Linked DNA regions of Homo sapiens: region 1 is linked to region 2. The links are contacts of gene promoters, found by promoter capture Hi-C in blood cells and fetal thymus (Javierre and others, 2016). All regions are on one chromosome and are shown on one strand. The core of a region is centred on a gene start or on the middle of the fragment in contact, and the rest is flanking DNA. Distances in the headings are between cores, read along the strand shown.

What was found. The method cuts DNA at HindIII sites, captures the fragments that hold promoters and counts their contacts. A CHiCAGO score of 5 or more calls a contact.
Region 1: a contact is called between a fragment that was not itself captured here and the fragment with the promoter of YAP1 in region 2, in 1 of 17 cell types (fetal thymus). The highest score is 6.2, in fetal thymus.

The regions. Positions count from the first base shown.
Region 1 is chr11:102,610,900-102,615,446 of GRCh38, reverse strand. MMP20 (matrix metallopeptidase 20) reads left to right here. Exons shown (of 10, transcript NM_004771.4): 3 at 3,544-3,692. Among named protein-coding and RNA genes, the nearest start is that of MMP20, 12 kb to the left of the region's middle. RefSeq lists an enhancer at 1-137. The HindIII fragment of the contact is 678 bases long and covers 1,241-1,918 here.
Region 2 is chr11:102,108,276-102,112,721 of GRCh38, reverse strand. YAP1 (Yes1 associated transcriptional regulator) reads right to left here and starts at 2,275. Exons shown (of 9, transcript NM_001130145.3): 1 at 1,553-2,275. The coding sequence starts at 1,873. YAP1-DT (YAP1 divergent transcript) reads left to right here and starts at 2,265. Exons shown (of 1, transcript NR_198976.1): 1 at 2,265-2,895. RefSeq lists silencers at 2,363-2,492, 2,503-2,552. The HindIII fragment of the contact is 4,853 bases long and covers 1-2,977 here.

The sequences.
Region 1 (4,547 bases), core at 330-2,829, 500 kb before region 2:
AGAAGCCAATCCTTAAAATGTCAGGAATTTTGCAGCCACTTGTTAAGCTCCCAAGAATTTTGTGAGCTGGTTGCTAAGACAGCCATTGTTAAATTATGTAAATTTACTATTAAATAAATCATATTACATTACATTAAATAAATTAAATTATATTATATTAAATAAATTATATTAAATAAGTATATTATTTCATATTTATATTTATTATTAAAATATATTTTTGTAGTAATAAATAAAATACTATTTATTAATAATATATTATTAAAACATTATTTTATAATAATAAATAAAATACGTTATTTATTATTATATGTTATATTATTTAATAGGTATAATTATTTAATAAATTACATTAAATTATATTAAATACATTATATTAAATAATTACATTAATATAATAAATTATATTAAATTATATTAAAAATAAAGGTAATAACATATTGCCTCTTATTTCACTACATTTTATTATTTTCTCTGTTCATGAGGCTATGTACATCTGTATAATCTGAGTGGTTCATTCATGCTCATCTCTTCACAACCTGGCATTCAGTGATGGTAAGTTGGTAGCTTGAATTAGCCATAGTGAGAATATTTACAACACAGAAATCAGCAAGTCATGCAAATCAAGTGGGTTTTTTTTTTTCTCCTTGTAGAGCCACTTGTTAACCTGTTCCAGCACACCAGTGAGTCCATTTGATCAAAGGAGGGGCCAGAATCCAGGGAACAGTCATGAATCCCCTAGGCCACTTGTTACCTGCTATCAGCCAATAAATCCATAAGGTGGCAGGCTGAACAAAAAAACAAAGCAATTGGGGGAGAAAAACCTCATAGGAGTTGAACACAAAAGTGATTCTGAAATAGTAAGAATAAGACAAGAAAAATGTGTACGCATCGACAGAGTCTTTTCATAGTTTTCTTAAAGTAAACTGTGTTCTGGAATTTTAGTCCATGACTATGTACAACAAAGACAAGAAGCCTGGGTCAAGATAATGTGATGCTTAGGGAAGTATAATATTCTTGTGATAAGCTGGGCAGTCTTAAAAACCCCTCAACACACACATTGCCTATCCACTCTTGCTCCCCAATAACTCTACCATCGCCTCCCCATGAAAAAGGACACTAGAGGCTATCACAGTACTCTGCCTGTGTAGCTACTGACTTTCAGAATAACTTCTTACAACATAACCCAGAGGATTACAAAAGGAAAAAAAATACAGCATAGTGCTTATATGCATAAGCTTTGGAGTCAGACAGAACTGGGCTCAAACCTGACTAATCATAACATGTAGATGATGATGATGATCTTCCTCTTAGGGGTCGAAGTGAGGATTAGATAAATGCCACATTAAAAAGTGCATACAGCAACAGCACATAGTGTGACTTCAAAGAATATTGGCTAGTATTACTATTGCTTTATCAAGCTCCAGACCCTGATTCGGGGATCCCTTTTTCCATGTTCTCTTCTTCTCTGGTGCTATCCCTCTCTCCTTCCTTGTCTTCTCCAGGCCAACACACAAAGTCAGCTCAAAGATATGGCTGACTTACCAAAAATGCGAGGGCATGTCAAAGTACTAAGTCCACCTAGTTGTGATAAATTGCAGACTCATATTATGCAGTGGGCTTGGCATATTTTGAAAGCATTAAATAGTCCCTTTAAGGGTCTGTCTGGTATCCCCCTTCAATTCTATAGCTCTCTTCTTTTGGCCCCAAACCTGGGGTTAAAGAGCTCCTTGTTCCTTCCCTCTCAAGTCCTGAATTGAGCTATTTGCTATCCTTTCTGTGGGCACAGTCCTTTCATTTGGGACCCTAGGATTACTGCTGTTGGTTTCTCATTGAAATTGCACCATCTGCATTATAATAACCTAAGATACCTTTCAAAACACAGATTTCTGGATCATACCTGTATTTTTAACAAGCTTCCTAGGTAATTATCACAGGTCCTAAACTTCGAGAGCCACTGAGTGGGCCCTAAAACAGCTAGCTTTAATTCTTTAATTCATTCATTTATTTATCAAGCAATTGCTAAGCATCTGCTATGTGCAAGGCACTAAACTAGGAGCTAGAGAGAGAGAGAGAAAGCAGGGCCGGTCCCTGCTCATGGGGTTGGCTCTCACAGACACAGCTTCTCACTTTGCATCATATTCCAGCCCAGCCCAAGGTCTCGGGTAGAAGTTGCCCTCCCTGCCTTTCCTTTGTGTGCTGCCAGAAATCCCCAGACCCTGGGCTTCAGAGCAGAAAGTTCTAACAATCACCAACTCTGACTCCACCCACAGTCCAAAAAGCACTACATTTTTCTGCCTTCAGGTGTCATCGTCACACCAGTAATTGCTGAAAGGCTCACCCTTTTTTCAATTCCAGTGAGCCTCCGTTTTTAAAGCTAGCCCTTCCTCTTTAAGAATGTATTATTTTGGGCTGGGGGCAGTGGCTCACGCCTGTAATCCGAGCACTTTGGGAGGCTGAGGAGGGCGGATCACCTGAGGTCAGCAGTTCAAGACCAGCCTGGCCAACATGGTGAAACCCCGTCTCCACCAAAAATATAAAAATTAGCCCGGCGTGGTGGCGGGCACCTATAATCCCAGCTACTCAGGAGGCTGAGGCAGGAGAATCAATTGAACCTGGGAGGCAGTGGTTGCAGTGAGCAGAGATCATGCCATTGCACTCCAGCCTGGGCGACAAGAGCAAAACTCCATCTCAAAAAAAAAAAAAAAGAAAGAAAAGAAAAAGAAAAAAGAAAAGAATGCATTATTCTGAGGGAAAAAAAAACCTTCCCCAATAGCCCTGGGGAAATCCTGAGGAGCTTTGAATAAGAATTAGCAAAACTTCAAAACTCCACATTTCTATTTTTTATAATTGAAAACATCCAGTCCCTTTGGGGAAAAAGAGGTCCTCTCTCAATGAAAACGACTTTAAGAAAAATTGACTACTTACTACCTGTAACATTTCACAAGTTTTATTTATCTTATTTATTTATTTAATTATTTTTGAGTGAAGTCTCACTGTGTCACCCAGGCTGGAGTGCAGTCGCCCGATCTTGGCTCACTGCAACCTCCACTTCCCAGGTTCAAATGATTCTTCTGCCTCAGCCTCCCAAGTAACTGGGACTACAGGTTTGCACCACCACGCCCAGCTAATTTTTGTATTTTTAGTAGAGATGGGGTTTCACCATCTTGGCTAGGCTGATCTCGAACTCTTGACCTCAAGTGATCCTCCCACCTCAGCCTTCCAAAGTGCTGGGATTACAGGCGTGAGCCACTGCGCCCGGCCACAAATTTTATTCTTTTAAGTCGGTGGTAGTATAATAACAATGAAAGCTAAATGGTTTCAGTACCGGATTATCCCAACTGTCTCTCATCTCTCCCTTTCATTTGTCTTGTTGTTTCATATGCAGAAATTTAACATATAATAAAGCAAAATAAGAATTATTATTTCAGAGAAAAATCTAAATTGTAGATTTACATTTAACATTTTTTGAATACAACATATAATTCTTGCCTTCTTCGGAGCAGTTACTGAAAAGAAAACATGTTCCTTCCGTTTTCACAGAATATCTAAATACACACCTTCCATGAGTTCTGTCGAGGTGGACAAAGCAGTGGAGATGGCCTTGCAGGCCTGGAGTAGCGCCGTCCCTCTGAGCTTTGTCAGAATAAACTCAGGAGAAGCGGATATTATGATATCTTTTGAAAATGGAGGTATTGTGGTACTTGGATTCCATCTACTAATTCAAAGGAGAGTTGTCCCAATACTGTTCCTTCTACATCTTTAATTCGAGTGATCACACACTCCTCCTTCGCACAGTGCTGTGATGGGCCAAGGCCAAGACCATGGCAAAGCCATGATCTTCATCTGGCCAGAAAATAGAACCAAAGGAGTTCTTAGCATGTCTTGTCATCATCAGACACAGCTGTAGAGTAGATTCACTGTAACAAACTTTCATTATGACTTTGCCCCACTAGGGGACAAATTCTTGCAGATTTTGCTTTCCCGTTAGCCACATGACCTCATCCATTCCCATGATAGTGTTTATCACTTATATAACCCCTTCTATATTAGCCAAGGATATCCTACCATGAATCCTCACTGAAGCAAATACCTTCCACAGTGACCTTGAAGCAGCTTTCCCCCTGCAGCAATGGTTAGGAAAGTATCGTTTCTGTCTTGCCCACACTTGCAGACCACCTTCTGGGAGATATGCAAGAGGTCTGCCTCCAACTTTCCCACTTCTTCTCCATTCCATTGCTCACCCTCCTCAGATAACATTTCTAGTGTCCTTGTCATTTCAAGCCCAGATCTTAATTTTAATCTGATGTCACTGGGGGGAAAACATGCTTAGGAGCTAGAAAAAAGAAGATCAAGCAAGTCCTGAGAATAAAGCCTTTAGAAATGGCCCTGGGCGTGACCTGGCCCAGGTTATGTCCTATTCCTCCCAGAAGAGAAAGGCCACCCCTGGTGAAGTGGCAGGGAAAGCAGTGTGACTCGGGGTAGCTTTGAAGGCCAAGGAATGAATGTCTGGCTCTCTCTTGATCTTTCAAGCTTACAGTCTGTCC
Region 2 (4,446 bases), core at 1,026-3,525:
CAAGCAGCTAAATTGTTTTTCCTTCTTTCCTCCTCCTTAACCCGGGTTTTTGTCATCAGGTTAAGTGATTTTTTCTGAGTTCCAAAACCCTTTGGTCTCCGACAGGAGACTATACAACAGGCCTGCAAATAGGAGAGGGAATGGGAGTGGGGGCGGTAACTCTTCTTTCCACTCAAGTTACATCCCGAGTGGGCTAACTACATTGCAGTATTTGGAAAACCTATTAACTTTTGGGCAAAGTTCCTATGCTGAAGTTTAGCCTGAAGCAAGTTCTCAAAAAAAAAAAAAAAAAAAAAGAAGAAGAAATAAAAAAGAAAGAAAAAGAGAGAACCCTACACAAAACAAATCCACTGGGACCTATTGGAATGTTAACACTCATTATAAACAGTTTCACTTCTATGCTGAATCAAGTTGGCACAATAATCGAACATTGTGTATGTGGAATAGCAGCCATGTTCATATCCGCAATAAGAATTAAAAAGCAATGGCGATCCTAGAATTAGTCATCGCTTCCCAAACATTAACTTTTAATCACAGTTGAACTAGGCAGGACTTGGCCTATGAGTCAACCTGCAGTGTATTATCAAAGGCTTGTGTTAAAACCTCGGTACTGTAAAGCGCAACTCAGTTCCTGCGCAACGTACAGATGTGGCTAATTCAAAAGCGTTTCAGCCGACTGTAAATAATAGTCTACAACTGGGAAACCAACACGCGACCTACTAAGTTTGATAAGAGCAAGCCGGCCCAAGTTCCAACACACAAGGGAAGAGCAGGGGTGAAAGAACTCCATAAACAACTTCCAGGAAAGTCTGGGCAGGGGAAGCCCGAAACCTGTATTCCGAAATCGCCTGAGCCGCGAGGAAAATAAATGCTTACGGGAGGGGGAGGGGAAACGGGAGGGGGGAAGGAAAGAAAGAGCAAAAAACTAAATGGACCGGTTCTACCCCCACCTCTAATCAACACTGGAAAACAAGAGAACAATTATTTGACTCCCCCAGGAGACTGAAGTGGACCGAGAGGCCGCAAAGGAAAGGGGCCCAGGGCTCAACTTCACAAACTCGGCCGCCGCTGGCAACACACCCACACACAAATGCCAGAGGCCCCCCTCCCCCTTTCCCAGCCCGGCCCGGCGGGAGCGAAGGTGCGGAGCGCGCGGAGGCGCGCGCATTGTGCAAGCCCACCGCGGCCCAGGCCCGACTTTTCCCCACCCCCTTCCTTCCTCCCCACCCCTCCTCCACTCCCGCCAACCTCTCGGGAACCCCGGGAAGAAAGAAAGGAAGAAGGAGGGAAAGCACGCCCCCCGGGGCTGCAACCGCAGAGAGAAACTCAGAAGGGAAAAACAAATCTCAGCCCCGGACTCTGGGAGGAGTGGGGAGCTGGTCACCGCGGCGGAGTGGACGACTCCAGTTCCACTTCGCCTCGGGACCCCCACCCCAGCTAGAGTTCCCGCAACCCCCCTCCCCTGACCAGAGCTGGCGGCCGCGGCTCCCGAGCGCCCCCCCGGTCTGAGGCCCGCCCGACGGGGAAACGGGGAGAGGGGCAACGAGGTTACCTGTCGGGAGTGGGATTTGGGCTCCGGCGGCTTGAAGAAGGAGTCGGGCAGCTTCCGGAGCCTCATGGGCACGGTCTGGGGCACGTTGGCCGTCTTGGGGTTCATGACGGCGTTGAAGAGCGCCTCCAGGTCGGTCTCCGAGTCCCCGCGGACGTGCACGATCTGATGCCCGGCGGGGGGTGCCTGCGGCGCCGCCTGGGTCGCCGCGGGTGCCGGTTGCCCGGGTCCGGACGGCGGGCCCTGCCCCTGCGGGGGCTGCGAAGGCGGCTGCCCTTGGCCCTGGGGGGCCGGTTGAGGCGGCGGCTGCTGCCCGGGATCCATGGCTTCTGCCTCCCCCGACGCGCACCCCCTGACCCAGGCGAGCGAGGGCTACGCCCGGACGCCCCGGCTCCACGGGCCGAGGTGGAGAAGCGGCGACGGCTGCGGGCCGGGCGGCGCTGTCCTCGCTCTCAGGGCCGGGGGGCTGCGCCGCGGCCCCGCATCCCCCGCCCCGGCGCCTCCGCCCCCGCCCTGCGCCCCGGCTCCACTGGTCTGGCGGCTGCGCCTCGGGAGGGGCTGCGAGGCACTCGGACCTGCGGCGCCTGAGAACTTTTTCCCTCCAACTCCCTTGACGGAGGCCGGACAGCTCGTTGCCTTTCCCCGCCTCCCCTTTCTCTTTATTTCCTTTTCTTGTTCCTTCCTTCCTCCCTTTCTTTTCCCTGGCGGCGGCTGCGCCCGACTGAGACAGAAACTCGCCTCAAACGCCAAAACTAAAGTTAGGAGAAGCGCCCGCCCGCGCCGCCGCGGCCCCGCCTCCTCTCGGCTCTTCCTTCCTCTGCGCGCCCGCCCGCACCGCGGCCCGGCCGGCAGCGCAGGGAAACTTTTCGCTGCAAGTTGCTACATTCCTGCACACTCCCGGCCCGCGGCGCCTCTCCCGGCCGCACGTGACCCGCTCGCCCTGGCCCGGTCCGCCCTTCGCCCGCGCTCAGCCGGGCAGGGGCCCGAAGCGTGCCCCGTATTCTGCCCCGCGAACCGCAAACGATGGGTCCAATCCGGGTCCGAACTGTGGTGTCTGCGGAGAACGCGGGCGCCCTTGGCTGCAGGAAGTTCTTCCGCTCCGCTCGGCCCCTTTTCCCCGCCCGTGCTCGGGAAAGGCGCTTCCAGTTCGCCTGGACCTGCGAAAGGGCCAAGGCCGAAAGAAGTGGAGAGAGGATGTGCGAACCCACCTCCTCCTCCTCGCGTTACCCCGGCTTGACCGAGCGGAGCGCCTGTGCGAGCTTAAAGCCGCGAGGATAGATTGGAGTTAAAATAGATACCGTGAGCCGGCATTGATGTTAATAAAGATCCATTGTTTTCAGCATTAACTTTATTTTGTAATTGTTTCACTTATCTGTTAGTCTGCAAAAACTCACTTGAGAGGGGTAAACGGTTACTGTAATTGAAGCTTTGAGACCAGGTCTGTAACTCAGTGTAACTTATTAAAAGAAACAAAAACACTACATTTTCCAAATAGTGAAATCACATCAACTTTTTTAGTACTCGAATTTGCAATAGTCACTGGAAGCCGCAACCCAAAAAATTAGTGCGTCTTCAGGTACAAGCATTCATGCCTCTGTACCTGTCTTTCATCCTCAAGGAGCTGGGTCCCTACCCCTGCTATCCCTGTGCCTGGCCCAACGGTGGACTCCGTTAATGTGGACTGAATAAGAAATGAATGGGCAAGGAGGTCATCCCAGGCACCTGATGTACAAGGAGCCCTTCTGGAAGCCACTCAAAAACAATAGAAATGTTTTTTAAGTCATACACTCTGGGTTTTTTTTTTTTAAAGCATCCTTGTTGAGATATAATTTATATACCATACAGTTTTTGCAATAGTTGTACATATTAGTATATTTAAGCAATTCACTGTTTTTTTAAATATATTCATAGGATTGTGCAACATCAGTCTAATTTTAAATGCACAAGCCCATTCTAAGGAAATCTGGCTTTCTTGTTTTAATGATTTTGTCTACAATGCTAGTGAAACAAAGGTATAAGTAGGATTAAGCAAGGAAAAAGTCCGTGAGCAAAAAGGTAATTTCTTCCTTCAGCCAGAACATGCCCAGGAGAATTCTGAAGGATCTGTATCACTTGGTGTGGTAGGGCTCGGCCAAAGGAGCAGGCCTCAGACACTCAAAATTCTAACAGAAGATTCCAATCAACTACTCTGAACCCCCAGTTTCCTGTCTGAAAAAAAGGATCAGAGTAAATGACACCCATGACTAGTTCTTGGATTTGTTCCCACTCCTAAATGTCAAGTGCATTTAACGACAGACTTGCAGGTTCTGGAGTTACAGAGTTTTGAGTTCAGGTCCCAGTTCTGCCATTTACTAGCTGTGAGGTTTTGGACAAGTTATTTATTTCCTGTTCTTTAATATTAGCATCAGGGGTAATAACACCTACCTCATAGTTGTTGGGGCATTAAATGAGTCAATGGATATAAAGTACTTAGCCCAGTTTGGGACGTGCAGTGAGTTCCACATCAATGTCAGTTGTCATTGTTGTCCCATGTTCACAGATTATTTCACAGGTAGTAACATAGCCTCTCCTTGCAGCAGCCCTCTCTTTCTAAGCACAGCCTCAGGGACCCTGTTGGTAGTCCCTTCCTCTCTTATCCAATAATCAGTCCACACAAACAAAACCTTTGGGCAGAAACTATGCATTAAAAACTTTACCTGAAAGAAAACTTTAGGAACCAAAGTGGGCCGGGTGCGGTGGTTCATGCCTGTAGTCCCAGCACTTTGGGAGGCCAAGGCAGGGGAATCACCTGAGGTCAGAAGTTCGAGACCAGTCTGGCCAAAATGGTGATACCCTGTCTCTACAAAAAAAAAAATACATAAAAATTAGCCAGGTGTGGTGGCATGTTCCTGTAGTCC